Regions from separate parts of the Homo sapiens genome. Here region 2 is linked to region 1. Evidence: promoter capture Hi-C in human tissues and cell types (Jung and others, 2019). All regions are on one chromosome and are shown on one strand. The core of a region is centred on a gene start or on the middle of the fragment in contact, and the rest is flanking DNA. Distances in the headings are between cores, read along the strand shown.

Region 1 (5,766 bases), core at 1,076-3,575:
TAAGCTTCCTCCTTGCCTTTCGAAGCATCTTTTGGGCAAACTTCTTTCTCAGGCGCTTGGTCTTCAGCTCTGTGAAATTCCTTCGCTTTTTCTTAGGGGTTTCTGGCACAGCGGGAACTTCCTTCTTCTTCTCTTCTACACCCTCCATGGTTCCAGCCGGAAAAAGAGGCTGGATCCTCTTTTTAAAAAATATATATATTTTTAAGACAGAGTCTCGCTCTGTCACCCAGGCTGGAGTGCAATGGTGTGATCTCGGCTCACTGCAACCTCTGCCTCCCGGGTTTGAGCGATTCTCCTGCCTCAGCTTCCTGAGTAGCTGGGATTAAAGGTGCCCACCACCACACCCAGCTATTTTTTGAATTTTTAGTAGAGATGGGGTTCCACCATGTTGGCCAGGCTGGTCTCCAACTCTTTTTTTTTTTTTTTTGAGACGGAGTCTCACTCTGTCACCCAGGCTGGAGTTCAGTGGCGTGATCTCGGCTCACTGCAAGCTCCACCTCCCGGGTTCACGCCATTCTCCTGCCTCAGCCTCCTGAGTAGCTGGGACTACAGGCGCCCGCCACCATGCCCGGCTAATTTTTTGTATTTTTAGTAGAGACGGGGGTTTCACCGTGTTAGCCAGGAGGGTCTCAAACTCCTGATATCAAGTGATCCGCCTGCCTCAGCCTCCCAAAGTGCTGGGATTACAGGCGTGAGCCACTGCGCCTGGCTCCTTCTTGGTGTTTCTTGACTTTCATCTGCCTCATTCAGTTTCTGTTTCTGTTTTCACACGGCTCCTTCTCTATGAGCCTCTTTTCTCTCCACCTGAGGGCCCACTCTAATCCAGTATGACCTCATTTAAGCCTAATTATATCTGCAAAAAAAACCCCGTAATTTCAAAATGAGGTCATATTCTGCAGTTCCAGGAGGCCATGAATTCTGGGAGGACACCGTTAACCCACTACAGCCATCGAGAACAGCAGCAGGAGGCTGGATGCGGTGGCTCACACCTGTCATCCCGGCACTTTGGGGGACCTACGCAGCAGGATCGCTTGAGCCCAGATGTTTGAGACCAGCCTGGTAACATAGTAACACCCTATCCTCTACCCCCCCCAAAAAAAAAATTAGCCGGGCATGGTAGCGTGTGCTGGTAGACCCAACTATGCAAAAGGCTGAGATGGGAGGGTCACTGAAGCCCAGGAGTTTGAGGCTGCTGTGAGCTGTGTGGCGCCACTGCATCCAGCCTGGGCAACAGAGCAACACTCTGTCTCTAAAAATATTAATTTAGGCCGGGCGCGGCGGCTCACGCCTGTAATCCCAGCACTTTGGGAGGCCAAGGCGGGCAGATCACGAGGTCAGGAGATGGAGACCATCCTCGCTAACATGGTGAAAACCCATCTCTACTAAAAATACAAAAAGTTAGCCGGGCGTGGTGGCGGGCGCCTGTAGTCCCAGCTACTTGAGAGGCTGAGGCAGGAGAATGGCGTGAACCCGGGAGGCGGAGCTTGCAGTGAGCCGAGATGGCGCCACTGCACTCCAGCCTGGGCGACAGAGCGAGACTCTGTCTCAAAAAAAAAAAAAATAAATAATAAAATAAAATAAAAATAAAAAATAAAAATATTAACTTAATTTAACTTTAAACAAAAAAGCAGGTGGTCTCCAAGAATGCAGGAGATAACTGACCGGGTGCAGTGTCTCATGCCTTTAATCCCAGCACTTTGGAAGGCCAAGGCGGGTGGATCACCCAAGGTCAGGAGTTCAAGTCCAGCCTGGCCAACATGGTGAAACCCCATCTCTACTAAAAATACAAAAAATTAGCCAGGCATGGTGGCGCGCGCATGTTACTCCCAGCTACTCGCGAGGCTCAGACAGGAGAATCGCTTGAACCCAGGAGATCGAGGTTGCGGCGAGCTGAGATGGCGCCACTGCACTCCAGCCTGGGTGACAGAGGGAGACCTCCGTCTCAAAAACAAAACAAATCAAAAAAATGCAGGAGAGGGGTACACGAATATTTGGGGAGCACCCCCAATTCTTGGATGTCTGCTGTATCCCCAGTGCACAGCACAATCTAATCCCTAATAAATGTGCAGTGGAGGTTTGTTGAATAAATGAATGGGCCCCAGAAGAATGAGGTGGAGAGGGGAATAGGAAGATTGAATGTCTCCTGCCTGAAGGTCGGGCGGGGAGGGGTTGGGGGCAGGCAACTCTGAGGCTCACCCGGGGCCACTGCCTGCATCCTGGCAACTGCCTCCACCCACTTTAGGATCTTCAGACTGGCAGCGGTTGGAGGGAATTTCCCCTCGCCAATTGCTCAAGTCCCTCCCCTCGACCGGCCGGACATCCCCAGAGAGGGGCAGGCTGGTCCCCTGACAGGTTGAAGCAAGTAGACGCCCAGGAGCCCCGGGAGGGGGCTGCAGTTTCCTTCCTTCCTTCTCGGCAGCGCTCCGCGCCCCCATCGCCCCTCCTGCGCTAGCGGAGGTGATCGCCGCGGCGATGCCGGAGGAGGGTTCGGGCTGCTCGGTGCGGCGCAGGCCCTATGGGTGCGTCCTGCGGGCTGCTTTGGTCCCATTGGTCGCGGGCTTGGTGATCTGCCTCGTGGTGTGCATCCAGCGCTTCGCACAGGCTCAGCAGCAGCTGCCGCTCGAGTCACTTGGGGTGAGTTGAGATGGAAAAGTTGGGAAGAAAACATAGAGAGGCGCGTGACCGAAAAGACAGAATGAGATGGGTACAAAGAGGCCAGAGAGGAAGATCTGGTAGGGCAGAGACAGAGACCAGAACAGGGAGGCGAGGCGGGGACCAGGCTGCCCGGTGTAGGGGCTACGAGACAGGCAGCCCTGCCAGGAGGTACAGGGAGATCCCGGGATGGGAAAGGTAGGCACACATGGAAATGGAAGATGACTCGGCTCTGGTGTTCCCCCGGCAGGCTGACTCAGAGGCTGCTGGGGGCTTCACAAGGCTGGGCGTGGGGGCTTCCTGGGGCCTCCTAGGACGGGATGGCCCCAGCCACTCGCTCCGGGTGGGGGAGGGGTCCCTTTGGGGACCGCGCCGGGCGCCTTTGCAGCGTAGAGAGTCCGCTGCGCGCGGTGCTCTCGCGCCCAGTGACATCCAGGAAAACGATTCGGGAAACGAAGAAGTTCTTTTGAAGGTCTCGACTTCACGTTCCCCGCTGGTTCAGACCTGCTTCCTCTTTAAGAAGTCTTAAGAGTAAAAAAAAATAAAATGAAATAAAATCACCAGTGCGCGCCGTGGGATGAGAGGTGGAAAGGAGGATGGACAGAGAAAAGAGAGCTCCTGGCACAGGGGACACATAGAACCTCTCTGCTTACGTCCGTGCCCTGTTTTCTGGTCTTTTCTTCCAGTGGGACGTAGCTGAGCTGCAGCTGAATCACACAGGTAACACGGGGGACGTGGAGGGACGGGGAGAAGAAGAGGCACAGAGAGAGAAGGAAGGAGAGGTAGAAAGACAAGTGGGGAGAGACAGAGAGAAAGAGACACAGACAGAGACGGAGGGAGAGAGGGAGGGAGAGATAGGGAGGGAAACGGAGAGGGGGAGACAGAGAGAAGACAGAGAGGGAGGGAGAGGCCCAGAGAAAGGGAGGGAGAGACAGAAAAAAGAACAGAGAGAGGGACAGAGGGGACAGACGGGACAGGAGAAGAAGGGGAAAGAAAGAAACAGGGAGAGACGCAGGGAGAGTGGAAGAGGGAGGGAGGGAGACAGGCGGGGGAGACAGAACGAGAGAGAGGGAGAGAGACGGAGAAAGAGAAAAAAGACAGATAGAGGAAGAGAGAATAAAAACGAGAGAGGCGACCTGGCGTGGTTGCTGGAGCCTGTAATCCCAGCGCTTTCGGAGGGCGCGGCGGGTGGATCACTTGAGCCCAGGAGTTTGAGACCAGCCTGGCCAACATGGTGAAACCCCGTCTCTACTAAAATTACAAAAATTAGCCGGGTGTGGTGGCAGGCACCTGTAATCCCAGCTACTCAGGAGGCCGAGGCAGGAGAATCGCCTGAACCTGGGAGGCAGAAGTTGCAGTGAGCCAAGATAATGGCACTGCTCTCCAGCCTGGGTGACAGAGGGAGATTCTGTCAAATAAATAAATAAAAAGAAGAAAGGAAAAGAAAAAGAAAGAAAGGAAGGAAGGAAAAGAAAGAGAAGAAGGAAGGAAGGAGAGAGGGAGGGAGGTGAGAGAGAGAGAAAGGAAAAAGAAAGAAGAAAGAGAAAAAAAGAAATAAGAGAAAGAAAAGAAAGAAAGCCAGAGAGAGGAAAAGAGAAGGAGAATAACAGAGAGGAAGAGACAGAGACAGAGAGGGGGAAGAAGAAAAACAGGGCGGGGGAGAAAGAGATCATTCCCAAGAGAAAAAGGAAAAGGGAGAGAACGAGAGAGAGAGAGAGGAGAGAGAGAGCGAGCAGGTTTGTGTTTCTGGGCATCCACTACCTTTCTCTCCCTTTCCCTCTCAGTCCTTCACATTCGATCTCCTCCCTTGGAAGAATCAAAGGGGTTTTGTTAGTAAACGAAAACGCTCACAGGAAAGGCTACCCTTCCTCCATTCATGCTACAAGCACTAATTATACATCTGCAGTGGGCAGGCACTGTTCCGGTACTGCAGTCGCGCACAAAACAGACAGAAATCCCTGCCTGGTGAGCTTCCCTTCTACTATCACTCCTACCGAGGAGGAGATGACCAAAAAAATAAAAACGAACATGTGAAAAACAGAGCAATGCCACGTAGAGTAAAACAGGCCAAGAGCAGGTTTTAGAGAAAAAATCAGGCAAGGAGGTGGGTGGGGAATCCGGGCATGCCAGGGTTGGGGATTTTCATTTAAAGTGGAGTCGCGGCGGTCGGGTGGGGGGGTGGTATCTGAGTGGGTGGCATTGGCAAGAAGCCTTGAGGGAGAAGAAATGAACAGTTCTGCTCTAGGTGGAAGTCTCTACCTCCTCCCAGCCTCTCTCGAACGCTTCTTCCTCTTCTGTTTTTCCACGGTTCATCCCCAGAGACTAAAATTACTGCACGCTTGCGTGTTTTGTTCCTTCCATTTTGTAATGGAAGGGACCTTTGTTGCTCTCTCTTCTCCTTGGGTCTCTGACCCCTGATATATCTTCCCCCCCTCCCCGGCCTTTGCCATATTTTTCCTGTAATTTGGTCTTGAGGCCCCTTTCTGGAGAGTGGCTGTCCAGCCCCACATCGATGGGGCACCAGGGGTGGTGGCCACAGGTGTTGACAGTGTCTTTCACAGGACAGCTCTTTCTTCTGGTGGATGATATCATGCCTAAGTGTGTGACAGGGGACCAGGTGTCACTCTTACAGGAAATTTGCAAAGCCTGGTAAACACCCTTGGGGCTCCTGTTTGACCCCGTTCAGTTCCTTCCTAACAAGATAGCCAGTCTCCAGGAGAGCCTTGAGTGAGGAGGAGAGTGAGGCTCAGGTGTGTCAGTCAGATAAGTTGCGGAGACAGGAGACGCTGAGATGAAACACGTGAAATATAGCCGAGGACCTTGGCTCCCGGCTGTGATCCCAGCGCTTTGGGAGGCTGAGGTGGGAGGATCGCTTGAGCCCAGGAGTTCTAGACTATGTTTCTTGGGAAACATAGCAAGACCACCATCTCTAGAACAAAATTTTGAAAATTAGCTGGTCATGGTGGCGCATGCCACCTCCCAGTGACTCGGGAGGCTGAGGTGGGAGATAGCTTGAGCCCCAGAGGCTGAGGCTGCAGTGAGCTATGATTGCACCACTGCACTCCAGCCTGGGTGACAGGACCAGACCCTGTCTCTAAAGAAAATAAAGATCCT
Region 2 (5,766 bases), core at 2,026-4,525, 500 kb before region 1:
CCGTCATTATGATATGGAGGTGCCAGTGTCTCCACATCCTGGTCAATCTGTTATCTTTTTAAAAGAAAAAAATTCCTGATCAATGAAAAAGGGAATCTCAATGTATTACTTCCCATTTTTCTTAGGAGAGCCACTTGTATTTCTGTGAACTGTTGTTAGCATTTGCTCCTTTCTCTAATTAACTCTTGGTCTTTCTCTTACTGCTTCGTAGGAGTTCTTGAATACTAACAAATTATTATGAGCAATGTTCAAGCATGGAAATAATTTTTGAAAAAATGTACAGGAACATTCATCAGTAACATTTTACTATACTTTGTCATATACATCTCTGTATCATCCATCAATTCATCTTTTTAAATGCATTTTGAAGTAGGTTGCAGATAGCTTACATATCATTAATTAGAGTTCAAAATTTGGGGCTGGAAGATCTAAGGTGGCTCATCCCCTGGCTAGCAATGTGGTGCTGGTGAGTTGGTTACTGGTTACGGGGCTGCTTGAGTCTCCTCATGGCATGGCGGATGGCTTCTCCTAGAGAAAGAGCAATAGAAGAGACCAAGGAGGAAGCTTCAGTGTGTCTTATGACCTAGCCTCAGATGTCACATGCAACAGTGCTGTATTGATCATATGGGTCGTGTATGATTCAATATTGGAGGTGGGGTACACAGGACAGGAATATCAGGTGGCAAGGGTCTTTGGTGAGCATTCTGAAGGCTAGTCAACACACCCACCTTTCCTTCAGACCACCTCTTTTCATCAGCCCGGAATCTCTTTTTTTGTGCTGGAGTGCCTGATCTGATTGTAGCTGTTTGAGGCATCTGGAATTCATGGCCGGGTTTAGAACAACTTGGAAGGTCTCCTTTCCCCCTCTTCTCTTTCTTTTACCCTTCTCCCCTCTCTCTTCCTCTCAGCCTTACCCCCAACTCTAGTCTTTCTTTGCTTCTAGTGAGCGAGCAGGAGATGCTCTGAGAGTCAACTGGGAATGCAGCTGATAAGGGTCTGCTGGGTGCAGGAAATGTTGGAAGGTTTGCTTGCTGGGCTGTATCACCTCCTGTATTATGGGAGCTTAGAGTATTTGCCAGCTTGTCAGGACTACCATCGTCTTCCATGTTCTGAGACTGGAGTACCCAACATTCCCCTAGCAGGGGACACTTGGCTTGATAGGGCTCTATCAATCTATATTGTGAGGGTAGAGATACTCATATTGCAAGGGGAGGCTGCAGGAGTTGCCTGCTGGGGCTAAGATTATTCCTTGTGTTTGGGATAAAGGAGGGGTCACCGCAGGGGCAGTCAACTCATGTTGGGGGAGACGGGATTTGCATTCTGGGCTCCCCTCCTCGTTTATGTTAAGGGTGTTGCTTGCTGATGCTTCTATTAACTCTTACTTTGGGATAATGGGAAGAGAGATAGTTTTCTGGGGTATGAGTTTGTCACTTATGTTGTAGAATCTGGGGGGCTGCCTGTTGAGATTCTGACCATTGCTTGTTTTGGGTGTCATTGCTGGGGATACTTATTTATAGTCTTGGGAAGACAAGGGATGCATGTTGCAGCGGTAGTGGGTAAGAATGGTGGCATTTGCTGGAGTTCTTTTTTTTTTTTTTTTTTTTTTTGAGACAGAATCTTGCTCTGTCTCCCAGGCTTGAGCGCAGTGGTGTGATCTTGGCTCACTGCAAACTCTGCCTCCCGGGTTCAAGAGATTCTCCTGCCTCAGTCTCCTGAGTAGCTAGGACTACAGGCACGTGTCACCACGCCCGGCTAATTTTTGTATTTTTAGTAGAGACGGTTTCACCATATTGGTCAGGCTGGTCTCGAACTCCTGATCTCGTGATCCACCCGCCTTGGCCTCCCAAAGTGCTGGGATTACAGGCGTGAGCCACCATACCCAGCCTGGAGTTCCTTTCTTGAGTGTGTAGAGGATTGAGGGTTGATTGGTTTTTGGAGTTTCCATCATTAATGTAGGAGCGATACGGGGAATCACTTGGCGAAGCTTTCATTGTCTCTGATGTTGGAGGTAACTGGAGGGCCAGTGCCTGGGGCTTCCATTTTTTTCTAGTGTTGAAGGGTCAAGAGCATTTATCAGATAGAGGCCTTACTGTGTATTGTTTGGGGAGAGGATGGAGGGATTATTGGATGGGGTTCCACTTATCTCTAGTTGGGGAGGGTCATATTCTGGGTCTCCGCTTGCCTGTACTGTTGGTATAGACTGGGTAGGCCATTGGGCTTGGAGTCCCCATTCTTTAGTGTTGAGGGGCATCTGAAGGGGTCATTTCAGGGACTTCTGTTATAGTTTTGGACGTGACTGAGGGGTGCTTGCTGGAGTAGTTTCGCGATGACGGAGGTCTTCATGTTTGGACTCCATCTTTTGTGTTTGTAAGTGATTGAGGGGTGGAGATCTGGCATCCTGTTGCCTCTTGTTTTGAGGGTGACTGGTGGTTACCTGCTAGGGCTTCTGTCAGCTCTACTGCTGTATGCAGATTGTGAGAATCACTTGCTGGGGCTTCCATAATCTCTAGTCTTAGGGGGACTGGGAAATGGCTTGCCATGCTTTCTATTATCTCTAGTTTTAAGGGACCAGTTCAATGTGATTTAAAACTCTTTTTATTTGAAAAAAAAAAAAAATTAGGGCTGGGCACGTTGGCTCACGCCTATAATCCTAACACTTTTGGGAGGCCAAGGCAGATGGATCACTTGAGGTCAGGAGTTTGAGACCAGCCTGGTCACCATGGCGAAACCCCATCTCTACTAAAAATACAAAAATTAGCTGGGCGTGGTGGTGCACACCTGTAGTTGCAGCTACTTGGAGGCTGAGGCAAGAGAATTGCTTGAACCCAGGAGGCGGAAGTTGCAGTGAGGTGAGTGTGGGCAACAGAGTGAGACTCCGTCTGAAAAAAAAAAAAAGATTTAGACGTATAAAAGTGTTAAAACTATACAGGCTTGATTTATACAGTCAATATTTATTTGTATTTGCTCACATTTTATCTTTCCTGATTATCCTTATATATTTCTGGAATTGCTTCCACATGGAATAATTTTCCTCCAGCCCCAAAACTTTCCTTCTTTCTTTCCTTCTCCTTCCTTCCTTCCTTCCTTCCCTCCCTCCCTCCTTCCTTCTTTTTTTTTTTTGAGACAGAGTCTCGCTCCATCGCCCAGGCTGGAAAGCAACGGTGCGATCTCAGCTCACTGCAACCTCCACCTCCTGGGTTCAAGCAATTCTCCTGCCTCAGCCTCCCAAGTAGCTGGGATTATAGGCGACCGCCACTACGCCCAGCTAATTTTTTTTTTTTTTTGTAGTTTTAGCAGAGATGGGGTTTTGCCATGTTGGCCAGCCTTGTCTCGAACTCCTGACCTCAGGTGATCCACCTGCCTCAGCCTCCCAAAATGCTGGGATTACAGGTGTGAGCCACCGTGTCTGGCCCAAAACTTTCTTTAGTGTTTCTTGAAGTGCAGTTCTGCTGGTGATGAACTATGTTGTTGCTGAAACACCAGGGGTTCAATCTAGGTCCTGCTGCTCACCACTGCACAGAAAGCCTATCGCTGAGACAATGAGTATTGCCAAGGAAGAAGGCTTTAATCAGCTGCTGCAGCTGAGGAGGTGGGAGAACAATCTCAAATCCATCTCCCTGACCAACTAAAATTTGAGGTTTATATAGCAGGGAAGAAATGTTACCATGTGTGGGAATACAGGAATTAGGGAAGGGTAAGGAAGAGGAGTTGGTCAACAGGAAGCAGGTGGTCAGTTAGGCAATCATGATGGGTGATGGGTCTGATGTCTCACTGTACAAATGCAGTATTCTGGTGCGTTTCAGCTCCTAGATACTATCTGGGAGGCCTGATGGTTGGTTTCCTGAGAAAGGAACTCAGATAAGATAAATGTAACTTTCTTAAGTTTTAAGATTGGGAAGATCAATTTGTTTGTTTATTCAAGGAAACCATAAACATCAGCAATATGGGAAAATTGGGCCAGTTTCACTTTCAGGTATTTAAAAGAAAAATCTATTGGATTTTGGATATCAATTCTTGTCCTTCACTTGGCGCTAAGTTCATGTCCCTACATAAGATACAAAGGGGGCCGGGCGCGGTGGCTCCCGCCTGTAATCCTAGCACTTTGGGAGGCCGAGGTGGGCGGATCACAAGGTCAAGAATTCAAGACCAGCCTGGCCAACATAGTGAAACCCCATCTCTACTAAAAATACAAAAATTAGCCGGGTGTGCTGGCGTGTGCCTGTAGTCCCAGCTACTCGGGAGGCTGAAGCAGGAGAGTCGCTTGAATCCAGGAGGCGGAGGTTGTAGTGAGCAGAGATGGCACCATTGCACTCCAGCCTGTGTGACAGAGTGAGACTCCATCTCAAAAAAAAAAAAAAAAAAAAAGAGATACAAAGGAAGCTACTGTTGGGATAATGTCATTTGGTCGTATTCCCATCAGAAACCTTAAGCTTTGGCCACAACCAGGACTCTTCATATAAAATGGTGATGGTGGTGGTGGGGAACCAGGGAAAAAGCGGAAAAAATTAAAGATTTTTTAAAAAACCCAAACCCAAAGCATAGCTGTCTTCTATTCCTGCTTTGGGACCTGGTCTTCAGGACTGAATTTAATTCTTCCACATCCATTCCACATTCTGCTTTCTCTCTGCCAGTCCCTTATCTGAATGGATTTTTATTTTTATTTTTTTTTGGGATGGAGTCTCACTCTGTCGCCCAGGCTGGAGTGCAGCGGCGCGATCTCGGCTCACTGAAAGCTCTGCCTCCCGGGTTCACGCCATTCTCCTGCCTCAGCCTCCTGAGTAGCTGGGACTACAGGCGCCCGCCACCACGCCCGGCTAATTTTTTGTATTTTTAGTACAGACAGGGTTTCACTGTGTTAGCCAGGATGGTCTCGATCTCCTGAGACCGGCCCTGAATGGATTCTTTACCCTGATAGAGTGATCTTATCTCGGATCAGGTTTTCTGGGAACAGATTTTGTGCTGGCAATTTTTTGTTTATTGGATAAAACTCCTGGGAACAACATCTTTAAAGGCATGCGAGAAGCGGAGGGGACAGATGAGGCTGACATGTAACTTGTCAACTGAGGCTGCCGTCGATCCCACAGGGAGTTCTGGTGCTGGGGTTGCCCTTCAGGGGTGTCCTACATTGAAACAAAGGCACTGGACCTTTGTACCCCCTACATCAACCAGTCACTGGAAGTAGGCAACCCCTGGAGAGAGAGCATAATCTTGGGTTGGGCACTTTCCTCTGGGCCTTGGGGAGTTCCCAGAGAGGACAGCAGCATCACCATCATCAGGCAACACCTCCAGCAGCTAGGGGAGTGCCTTAGTCTTTTCTTTTTTCTAGATGGAGTCTTGCTTTGTCACCAGGCTGGCGTGCAGTGGCAAGATCTTGGCTCACTGCAACCTCCGCCTCCCAGGTTCAAGCGATTCTCCAGCCTCAGCCTCCTGAGTAGCTGGGACTACAGGCACACGCCACCACGCCCAGCTAATTTTTTTTTTTTTTTTTGAGATGGAGTCTTTGTCGCCCAGGCTGGAGTGCAGTGGCGCCATCTCGGCTCACTGCAAGCTCCGCCTTCCAGGTTCACGCCACTCTCCTGCCTCAGCCTCTCGAGTAGCTGGGACTACAGGTGCCCGCCACCATGCCTGGCTAATTTTTTGTATTTTTAGTAGAGATGGGGTTTCACCGTGTTAGCCAGGATGGTCTCTATCTCCTGACCTCGTGATCCGCCGGCCTTGGCCTCCCAAAGTGCTGGGATTACAGGTACGCCCAGCTAATTTTTGTAG

The links. The method cuts DNA at HindIII sites, captures the fragments that hold promoters and counts their contacts. A contact is called where the count stands out against the background at its distance.
Region 2: a fragment that was not itself captured here is called in contact with the fragment with the promoter of CD70 in region 1 in 1 of the 25 tissues and cell types used here (ovary).

What each region holds. Positions count from the first base shown.
Region 1 is chr19:6,587,709-6,593,474 of GRCh38, reverse strand. CD70 (CD70 molecule) reads left to right here and starts at 2,325. Exons shown (of 3, transcript NM_001252.5): 1 at 2,325-2,634; 2 at 3,339-3,372. The coding sequence starts at 2,473. It also overlaps the pseudogene RPL7P50. RefSeq lists enhancers at 506-605, 626-1,085, 2,156-2,555, 3,056-3,425, 4,604-4,683 and 1 more. The HindIII fragment of the contact is 16,779 bases long and covers 1-2,935 here.
Region 2 is chr19:7,093,018-7,098,783 of GRCh38, reverse strand. The region is part of intron 1 of LOC124904625 (a long non-coding RNA gene); the gene reads left to right. Among named protein-coding and RNA genes, the nearest start is that of ZNF557, 26 kb to the right of the region's middle. The HindIII fragment of the contact is 4,002 bases long and covers 1,275-5,276 here.